2 separate regions of the Homo sapiens genome follow, and region 1 is linked to region 2. The links are contacts of gene promoters, found by promoter capture Hi-C in blood cells and fetal thymus (Javierre and others, 2016). All regions are on one chromosome and are shown on one strand. Each heading gives the region's core, a stretch centred on a gene start or on the middle of the fragment in contact. The rest is flanking DNA. Distances are from core to core; before and after follow the strand shown. Region 1 has its middle 230 kb from the start of LINC02516. Region 2 holds the start of ANKRD50 (ankyrin repeat domain containing 50).

What was found. The method cuts DNA at HindIII sites, captures the fragments that hold promoters and counts their contacts. A CHiCAGO score of 5 or more calls a contact.
Region 1: a contact is called between a fragment that was not itself captured here and the fragment with the promoter of ANKRD50 in region 2, in 1 of 17 cell types (endothelial precursors). The highest score is 9.7, in endothelial precursors.

What each region holds. Positions count from the first base shown.
Region 1 is chr4:124,327,552-124,331,907 of GRCh38, forward strand. No RefSeq gene overlaps it. Among named protein-coding and RNA genes, the nearest start is that of LINC02516, 230 kb to the right of the region's middle. The HindIII fragment of the contact is 2,900 bases long and covers 877-3,776 here.
Region 2 is chr4:124,709,737-124,713,981 of GRCh38, forward strand. ANKRD50 (ankyrin repeat domain containing 50) reads right to left here and starts at 2,996. Exons shown (of 5, transcript NM_020337.3): 1 at 2,722-2,996; 2 at 264-1,538. The coding sequence starts at 775. RefSeq lists enhancers at 2,404-2,969, 2,970-3,535 and silencers at 2,483-2,722, 2,873-3,252. The HindIII fragment of the contact is 8,904 bases long and covers 678-4,245 here.

The DNA.
Region 1 (4,356 bases), core at 1,077-3,576, 380 kb before region 2:
GGAGAGGTGGAAGAGGAGGAGATAATGAAATAAATGGGCACAATGAAGAATCTTCATGAGCAGTGATTGGACAACAAACAAATATGTAAATACATTGTCTCTCTGCCCATTATTCTTAACCTTAATCAGTAAATTACTAAATTGCACATGGGTCCATGAATTTTGTTCTTAATAAATTATTTATACAGACAGAGACCACACAAATATATTTGTCTGGGGCCCCACACACCCTATGGGTAATCTTGAATTCTGTCAACATAGTCAGTGAATACCAACCTCGAAAATAATTTGTAGACTGTTGGTAGTTGGGTGGAGGTGCACAAAAGATTTTAATACAGAAGGTCTTCTATTTAGATAGAAAGGTCCTCAATAGATAGAAAGGAATCTAACCCTTATCACTGCTATGACCTTCCTATAGGTGTTAGTGGTTGTGGGCAGTAAGTTTAGTCTCTGCTATAGTATTGTGTATGCTGTGTTTAATCTTAAGATGTTTTGAAATACTTTACAAACATCACTCCTTCATCAGTGTCTGTTGCAAAGGGAATGAAAGTATTTAAAATGCTAGTAAAAAGAGGCAGGCAAACGATATAAAAATGGGAAGTGGTGAGAGTGTAGGAAAGTGACTGGATGTGAGATGAGACTAGAGGATCAGAACACATTTCACAATGAGCCAATATTATTTCAGGAGTGTGCTTTAAATTATGAATACCCCCAAATATGATTTGTTTCTAAGTATGAGGCCATGAAACCAAATTATCTAACCATATGGGGAGACGTGAATGGGTAAGGATAGGAGTGGGGTGGCAATAGGGATGGTTGAGTGGAGGAAGTAGGGGTCAGGCATCCCTAGGGAAATAATATCTTGCTGAAAATGGAAGCTTTTCTGGGACTACTCAGATGAATTGATATAGATTCCTCTAGTTAAACGTTTCAGCCAGTACAAGAGCCCAGAGAAGAGAGAGAAAAGCATGCTTTCAAATAAACAGAAGATTTCCATATTGAGAGAAAGAGAAAGATAGGAAAGGAGTGAAAAAGCATAAGGCAAGAGACAGGCATAGTCCTATTGCAGATCTAAAGAAACTGGACTATCCTCAGGACAATAGACAGACATTGGAAACTGTTAGCAATGTGTGTTATAAATGATCTCTCTGGTTGCAGAGTGAATGCAGGGGAACAGTTAGGAAGCTGTTCAAAGGTGGTGGCACTGACAATGAAAAATAGACTCTTAGGAGGTATATAGGAGATGGAAGTGGCAGTAGGTTTGATGAGAGAGTCTGAGGAAGAGAGAGTTCCCAGGGATGCTCCCAGGCTTAGCTGCTAAAAGCGCAGCAACACAATTTCCTGAAGGGCAATTATATAGGTGAGGCTGAAGGTGGAGAGGGGGTGGCTCATTGGGAACAGAATAAATTGAGTGCAGGTTGAATATTAGGAGCTTGAGGGGCTTCTGAATGGGAGATGACAGTAGGAAGTTGAAGTTATGTAACTGGAGGATTCATTATGAACTTGGTCTGTTTCCCCAAGGGCAAAAGCATGTTGTTTGTCTCCATTTTCCATCTAGAGAGCAGAACATTGAACCTGGACACATGCTTTCTCAGTTTAAAAATGGCTTCCAAATGCAAAGGAGCAGAAATGCAGTAGTAGCTGATACATACCAAATACAAAGGTCACTTACTTTACAAATTCATTTTGCACCAGGCTGTGCCTCAAAACATAATTCAGAAACTTCAGACATCATGAGCAGAGAAGTTTTACCCAAGAGTGTTCCTCTTGAACTGACAGGAAAGATAAATGACCTTGCTCTTTACAAGCATGGAAGTGTGCTTTCAATGTTTACACAGTGGTGGTGTTCATCTCTATTATCTATGTGTTTTAATATAGCCATTTAGCTGTGAAAATAACCACACAGAAGTGCCAATATAAAATTGATACATTTTTTAATTTATTGAAACACTTGCCCATTTCCAGATGTCTTCCTGTATTTTTGACCTGTTTTATAATCTTGTTGAGGAGGTGTATTCATGCTCAGAGAAACATTGGCTTGAGGAAGAGTGGGGGGTAGCTCAGAAAGGAGAATTTCCCGAAAACCTGTGCATTATCAACATGATTTGGTAAGGTTGTTTGATTTTGAGTTTTTCTTTTCTATTTCTTAATTTAAATGTTAAACATTTAAATCACTTTAAGTCTATAATAGATATCCACAAATATTAACCATTTTATTAATTTAGTAATTCAAGTGCCCTGGAAGACATATGTTCAGATTATCTTAAGAGTTTTCATATTTCAATACATAAGAGGTTAAAAAAAAAGCCTACCAAACTAACACATAAATCTGAGAAGTCTAGTTGTAGGTGTCATGTTTACGTTGCTTTATCTTGGCCTTTGTATAGCTGTGAAAAATGAAGTGTGAACTTTGATGCTTCTGCACGTTACAATCTTTCCAATTCAAATTCAGAGGGGGAATAAAGAGAGAAGGGAACTAATACTATGAAACTGACTATGTCCCAGGGACGTTTGTTTACTTGAGTTTATTACAACAGTACATTGAGCAGGACATTTCTAATCTCATTTTTAGATAAGGAAACTGAATCTCAGAAGAGACATTTGCCAAGAGTCACCTTGCTACGTAAAGGGTAGTAGCACTGGGATCTCCTGTTTTTTGGAAAACTGGCCTGTTTCAAAGTTCAGTTTGATTAAGTGGCACTAAGCATAAGTGACTCCATTCTGGCTTGGTCCATTCTGGTCTACTGGGGCTGAGTGCAGGAGGCTAGTTTAAACCAATGGCCTCCTATAAACTTTAACAACGATTATGTTTCAACTTATACATCTTTTTTAGTGTCTACTGACAAATGACTAACAGAGTGTTACTTTCCTATCTATGTTTTTAAGGTGACTACACCAAACTCTGCAATATTGAAGTGCTTTCTAGATATGCTTGAGAGAGATCTAATAGATAAAGTGTAATAGGAGAGTAGATGAATGGAGTCATTTTCTAAAAAAAGATCAGAAAAATGTAAGTTAAATAACCTTGGTTCAGAGACAAGGGAATGCAGTGAAGGAGATCATGATTCTGATTGAGGGCAACTATCAGTGGATTACAGGAAGAAAGAGAATGCCTGTTTTACCGAGCTTTTAATTTTTAATCAGTTTTATTGAGGTATAGTTTACTTGATACTTTGTCATACTGACTTCCTCTTCCAAGGACAGTGTTTCTTTTACATTCTCCCCTCCACTGCAGAGGGAAGCAGCCTAAATCATTTCTTAAGAAAGAGTGGGTCACTGCTTTTGGACTGGTGGTTTAAAGTGTAGTCACTGGAATAAAGACATAAGCATCAGCTGGAGGCCTCTGAGAAATGCAAATACCCAAACCCCACTCATAGACCTCCTAATTGAAAACTGTGAGGGGTGGGGGCCAGCAATCTGTCTTTTAACAACCCCTCCAGGTGATTCTGATGCACTATCAATTTTAACAACTCCTGCACTGGCAGCTGGCCTTTGACAAGGCTTAGCCAATCTGGAGATGGGCCACAGGAGGGTATATTGCCCAACTTGTCCCGCAGATGCATCATTACTTAGCAAAGCTATTCTCAGCTTCCCAATTTGGGTTCAGAAAACTAGAAGAAATCAACCAGCCATTGGCAGAAAGACAAAGACATTTAGATTGAAGTAGAAAACAAAGGTACAGTAGAGTCATGCCAATAACAGGCCCCTAAAATTCCTGTTGATGAAAGAGTGAGATTGTGTTTCTTCCACATTACTACTTCCATATTCTTATGTCAAGCTTCCATTTCATGGGGTATCTCACAACCAAAATAGTTAAAGCCTCTTGTTCTCTGCAATTTAGAATCTACTTAGAAACAAGTGTTAGTAATTGTTTGAGCCAAGAAGATGGAGAAGGAGCAAAGAAGCAGTGTTCATCTGTATACTGAGAAAATAATGATACAGTGTCCAGAGGGCTCAGATGAACAAAAGCAGTCATTTTGTCTTCTGCCCAACAAGTGAAAAAACATTACAAATCTTAATAACTATGTCGACTAATAATAAATAATATGTATTATGCACTCCCTGGGTTCAGGTTGCTCTTTTATGTGTGTGCACATGTGTTTGTATGTATATACATAAATGTATAGTTTATACGTAAAATACCTCAATTCACTTAAGTCACATAATAATCCATGCATGTTTGGATTAACGCTATACTTGCTTTATAGATTATAGATAATAGCGTTAAGGTAAAGGAAAATTAATTAACTGTCCTGAGTATACACACATAATCTGTTAGACGGTAAGGATTTGGACCACAGCAGCCTGGCACCAGAGCCTGTGCTATCAACTATAAAGCTATATTGCTTCTTGATG
Region 2 (4,245 bases), core at 1,746-4,245:
TAGGCAATGTAAGTAACATTATGTTATTAAGTAAAATTAAGATACACTTTTAATCCATTTTAATCCATATGCTGTGCAATACCAAAACCTAAATTTTACTTCCTTTGATATTCAAAGTAAACAGGTATACTCATAACTTCAGATTAAGGCCAAATGTACAGCACCAGTAAAAGTAACCCACAAAGTTAAAACAAAAAACTACAACTAAAAATTAATTTAATTTCAGCATAGAAATCTGAACACCATGACATTTTTATTGTTACCTTTTAAATGCTTCGGCTGGGTTTCTCTCGCACTCCCCAGGCTGTAAGAGGCTTTGGACTGCTGGATCCCTTAGCTTGTCCTCATATCCTTGGAGTAGTCCACTGCGGCAGATCTGGGCTACTAGACCTCTAATAAACCCTCCAACACACAAAGTATCAGAGTCCTGGGCTTTGCAGAAATGAAAGGCCAAAGCTTGGCGATGTAAACCTCTCTGCAAACTTGCAGGTGAACTTGGCCATAAGAGTTCAGTACATAGGGCCGTCTTGCCACTGCCAGGCCCTCCTACCAACAACACACCCCAGGCAGCTCCCTTTCCAGAGACACCACTAGCATTATTCCCAGAATTCATTACAAGTGATGGTGCATTGACAGCACTATTGCAGCAGTTACTTTTCTCCTGGAGGCAATGCTGAAGCTTGTGGAAAACCCACTCCCTACAGTAAAACTGCTTCCCTTGCAGTAAACTGGTTTGAGCCATTTTGCAGACTTTCTCTTCCCAAGGATTAGTCATAACGGGTTTTTTATCTTCATTTGCTAGAGTCTGGATACATCAACACAGGTCTTTCCATCCATTATGACATAACTTGTATATTAAGTTGACTCTGAAGACAGAGTAACTAGTTACAGTAAAATTCAACAGCCACAGAGTTCCTCTGTCAACAGAACGTGCATGACTTTATTTGGTTCCTTATTCTTGATCAGCAGTCTATGTATTAGTTGTTGAACTGAGGGAGAAACGCCTGATTCCACAGCTCAGCAACACTTTTCCTAAATTTTAATGAGTCACATAACTCCATGGTTATAACTGGAGTTTATGTGATTGTGGATGTTTCAAGAACAGAGATGAGACAATACATGTGGAAAACTAAAGAAAAAACCCAATCTTTCAATTTGTACAAAATGCTTCTCCAGATTCCAAGTGTTAATTCTGCATCTGACAATTAGATTCTGAAAAGAGGTCCACTGCATTAAATGGCATCAGAGAGATTACATTTATACGGTATGAGGTACAGTATGTAAGTAGCTCTGTATTTCTCGTTGAAGGATGATCACTCAAGAGTACTAGATCGTGCCAGTTTCAGGCATCTGGGCAACTGCCAGGAACTGTTTCAGATTATAGTCTCTTATGTGGCAGAAATGACAACCACTGTTAACACCTTCTTAATTCAAAGCATTCATAATATGCATTTTTCAAGACAGCAGATTCTTAATGAACCTGTTCACAGGTTTCTTGGTTTTAAGACGTCCGGGTAATCAACAATTTCCACAAGTAACTAAAATAAAACAAACAAAAATACCTCAGTGCAAAATATCATATGTTAAAAACTTATTAAGGACAATAAAGGTTGCAGTGTACCAGTTAACGTAATCTCAAAAATCCACGTACTTCACCTTTGGCACTTTCAAAAAGTTGGACAAAAACCACTGAAATAATCACATTCTCCCTTCTGCATTTTTCTTCCTCATTGTTATGCTTCCCAAACAGCCACATTTTAATCAAGTTACCCAAGATTTTTGCAACTTCACCATAGCAAAGGAGGGGGGGAGAAACTTTACGCACATACAGTAACACCCTTAACTCCAGGCAAAACGCTCATTCACAGTAGACTGGTAGAACAGCGCCAGCTAAGGAAGCTCTATTAACTTACACAGTCCAGTCAGTCAAGGACTGTCTACTCCTCCAGCCACACTTCTTTGTTGATAATGTGCAAAAATCTAGGGGAAGATTACCAGGGTTGCAGCTGGATGGGAAACGGTTTAAAAAAAAAAAACAAAAACGATGGGGGATGACTGTTCTTATAAGAATGATAAAGCAAACACAAGTAAAATGTGAATCCTTCCTTCCTCTGGGCCAAGGATGGAGGTCAGGGATAAAATCTACCAGTCTGGCCGGAGAAAAGGCTGCTAGAGAGAAATTCCTTCCAAGACAGGAAAGGGATAAAGAGTAGAGTGCTTCGGTGCTGGTGGGTGTCTGCCCACAGGTCCGGCCTCCAGTTTCAGCTGACAGACAAAAGGAACTCCGGGATTCCCAGCGCCGGGCACCACCTTGGGTTGGAACCGCCCAGAGGAGCCACAGGGGAGCCACCTCAGAGAGGCCACGAGCGAAGGTGCAGCCTCCACACCGAGGTCTGCCCTTCCAGAGGCTGGGAGCGCCTCTGCACCCCGCCCCGCACCGAGATTGGGGTGTGTCTTTTGAAGGGGGAGGGGGTGACTGAGGTCCTTGCCAATCCCAGACGAGGGGTCGCCTCCCGGTCGGCTTCCGCCTCTGCGCTCCCGCCCCATGCCCCGCTCCCGCTCCCACCCGGCCGACGGCGGTGCGAGGGAAGAGGGCAAATCTGGGGCTCGAGGCCGGAGAGGGTGGGTGGTTGGGTCAGGTCCAAGCCACGGCCTCGGCCTCCCAGCTTCCAACCCGAGGGAGGGGCCTCGCTTCCACCGCCGCCGCCGCCCCCCGGTTACCTCGGCCCCAGCCGCCGCCGTGGCCGCCGCTGCCGCTGTTAGGGACTCTCAGTCTCAGACACTTGCTTCGCTGAGAAGTCGCTGCCAGCAGCGCTCCCAAGACTCCACTCCAACTGCAGCCGCCTCCTCCGCCGGGCCCGGGGCACGCTCCCAGCTCCGGATCCTCCTCTTGGCCCCCGGCGGCTGCCAGTTCCAGCTTTCCCAGCAGAATCGGTCGTGCTCGCCCCAGCCCCCACCGGCCAACCGCCGCCGCCGCCGCCGTCAGGGCAGTAACTGTCTCAGGCAGCCCCCGGCCGGCCGGCTCCGCCCCGCCCGCCCAGCCCAGACCCCGCCCCCGCCCCCGCCCCCGCCCCGCCGCTCGGCCTTTCTTTGCCCGCCGGCTCCGCCTCCGCGTCCTTCCCCTCCCCCACCGCGCTCTCCCGCAGCATCCCGTGCCTGGGCGTGTGCGGCCGCCTGGGACCCGCTGCCGGCGCGGCGGGGAGACCTGTCTCGGGGCGGCGTGGGGGCCCCGCCTTTCTCAGGGGAGGCGGAGAACGGGGCGGGGGCTGCGTTCTCACGTCTCCGAGCTCACGCGAGTCGTTGCCCCCACCCTCCCCGTCACCACTGGGCCCTGATCCTTCCTTTGTCTTCCAGGCCGGAGGGACTCGCCGGCTGTTGGTGCCGTATCTGCTCCTGGGAGGGGCAGTTGGGTAGGGGGAGATTGCCTCTTGCCTCTCTCTGCTCAACCCTTTTGCCTCTCCCTTAACCCCGTTGCTTCCAAAGCCACTTCGGGCCCCGTTCTACCCCTCAGTCGTCCGGTCTCCTTTCAGTCCATTAAATTCCAGGGATGCTTTTACTTTGGCTGGGACGAAGAGAAGGAAGGAAAAGACTGGGAAGAATGTTGCGAAAATAGAAATAGTGGGGGTATACAGCGACATTCCTACCAGCCTCATGAAAAGGACGTGGCCTCCATCAGATGGAGGTTGACAGCAGGCTTGACTGGGTCTCAGGCCCCTGCTCCTCAGGGCCACTTGATCACCCGCAGCGTCCACTAGGGGGGAAGGTCTTGGTCATGTGGCGTCAGGAAATGCCCTAGAGGGCCTGCTCACAGGGGCCTGTTGGACTAAGCATGTCAGTTGTTTGCACTTACTGGACCTGAGTTGCTTAGATTCCAAATTTCTCCCGGGAAAATAAGTATACCGTCAACTGATGGAATAGGAAATGTAGCATTTTTTATTTTAATTGTTTATGCTAAAATCCAGAGTGCTCTATTTCCCATTCCTCATTAACTTGCATGTGGTTATTTGCCAAAATATTAAGCCAGTCTCCCATCTAGTTTTAGAAATTTCATAGTATAGCTATCACAATAAGAAAGATGGATAAACAAATAGATCGTGTTTGTGCTTACTCTTTCATATTGTTTATTCGTGCCAATTGAGGTTTACTGATCTTAGTATTTAATTTTAATTCATGTACCCTGAATTTTGGGCTTCTTTCCTAAAACACAAGCAAAAGAGGCAGAGTATAAATTCTCCAGAATTAGGG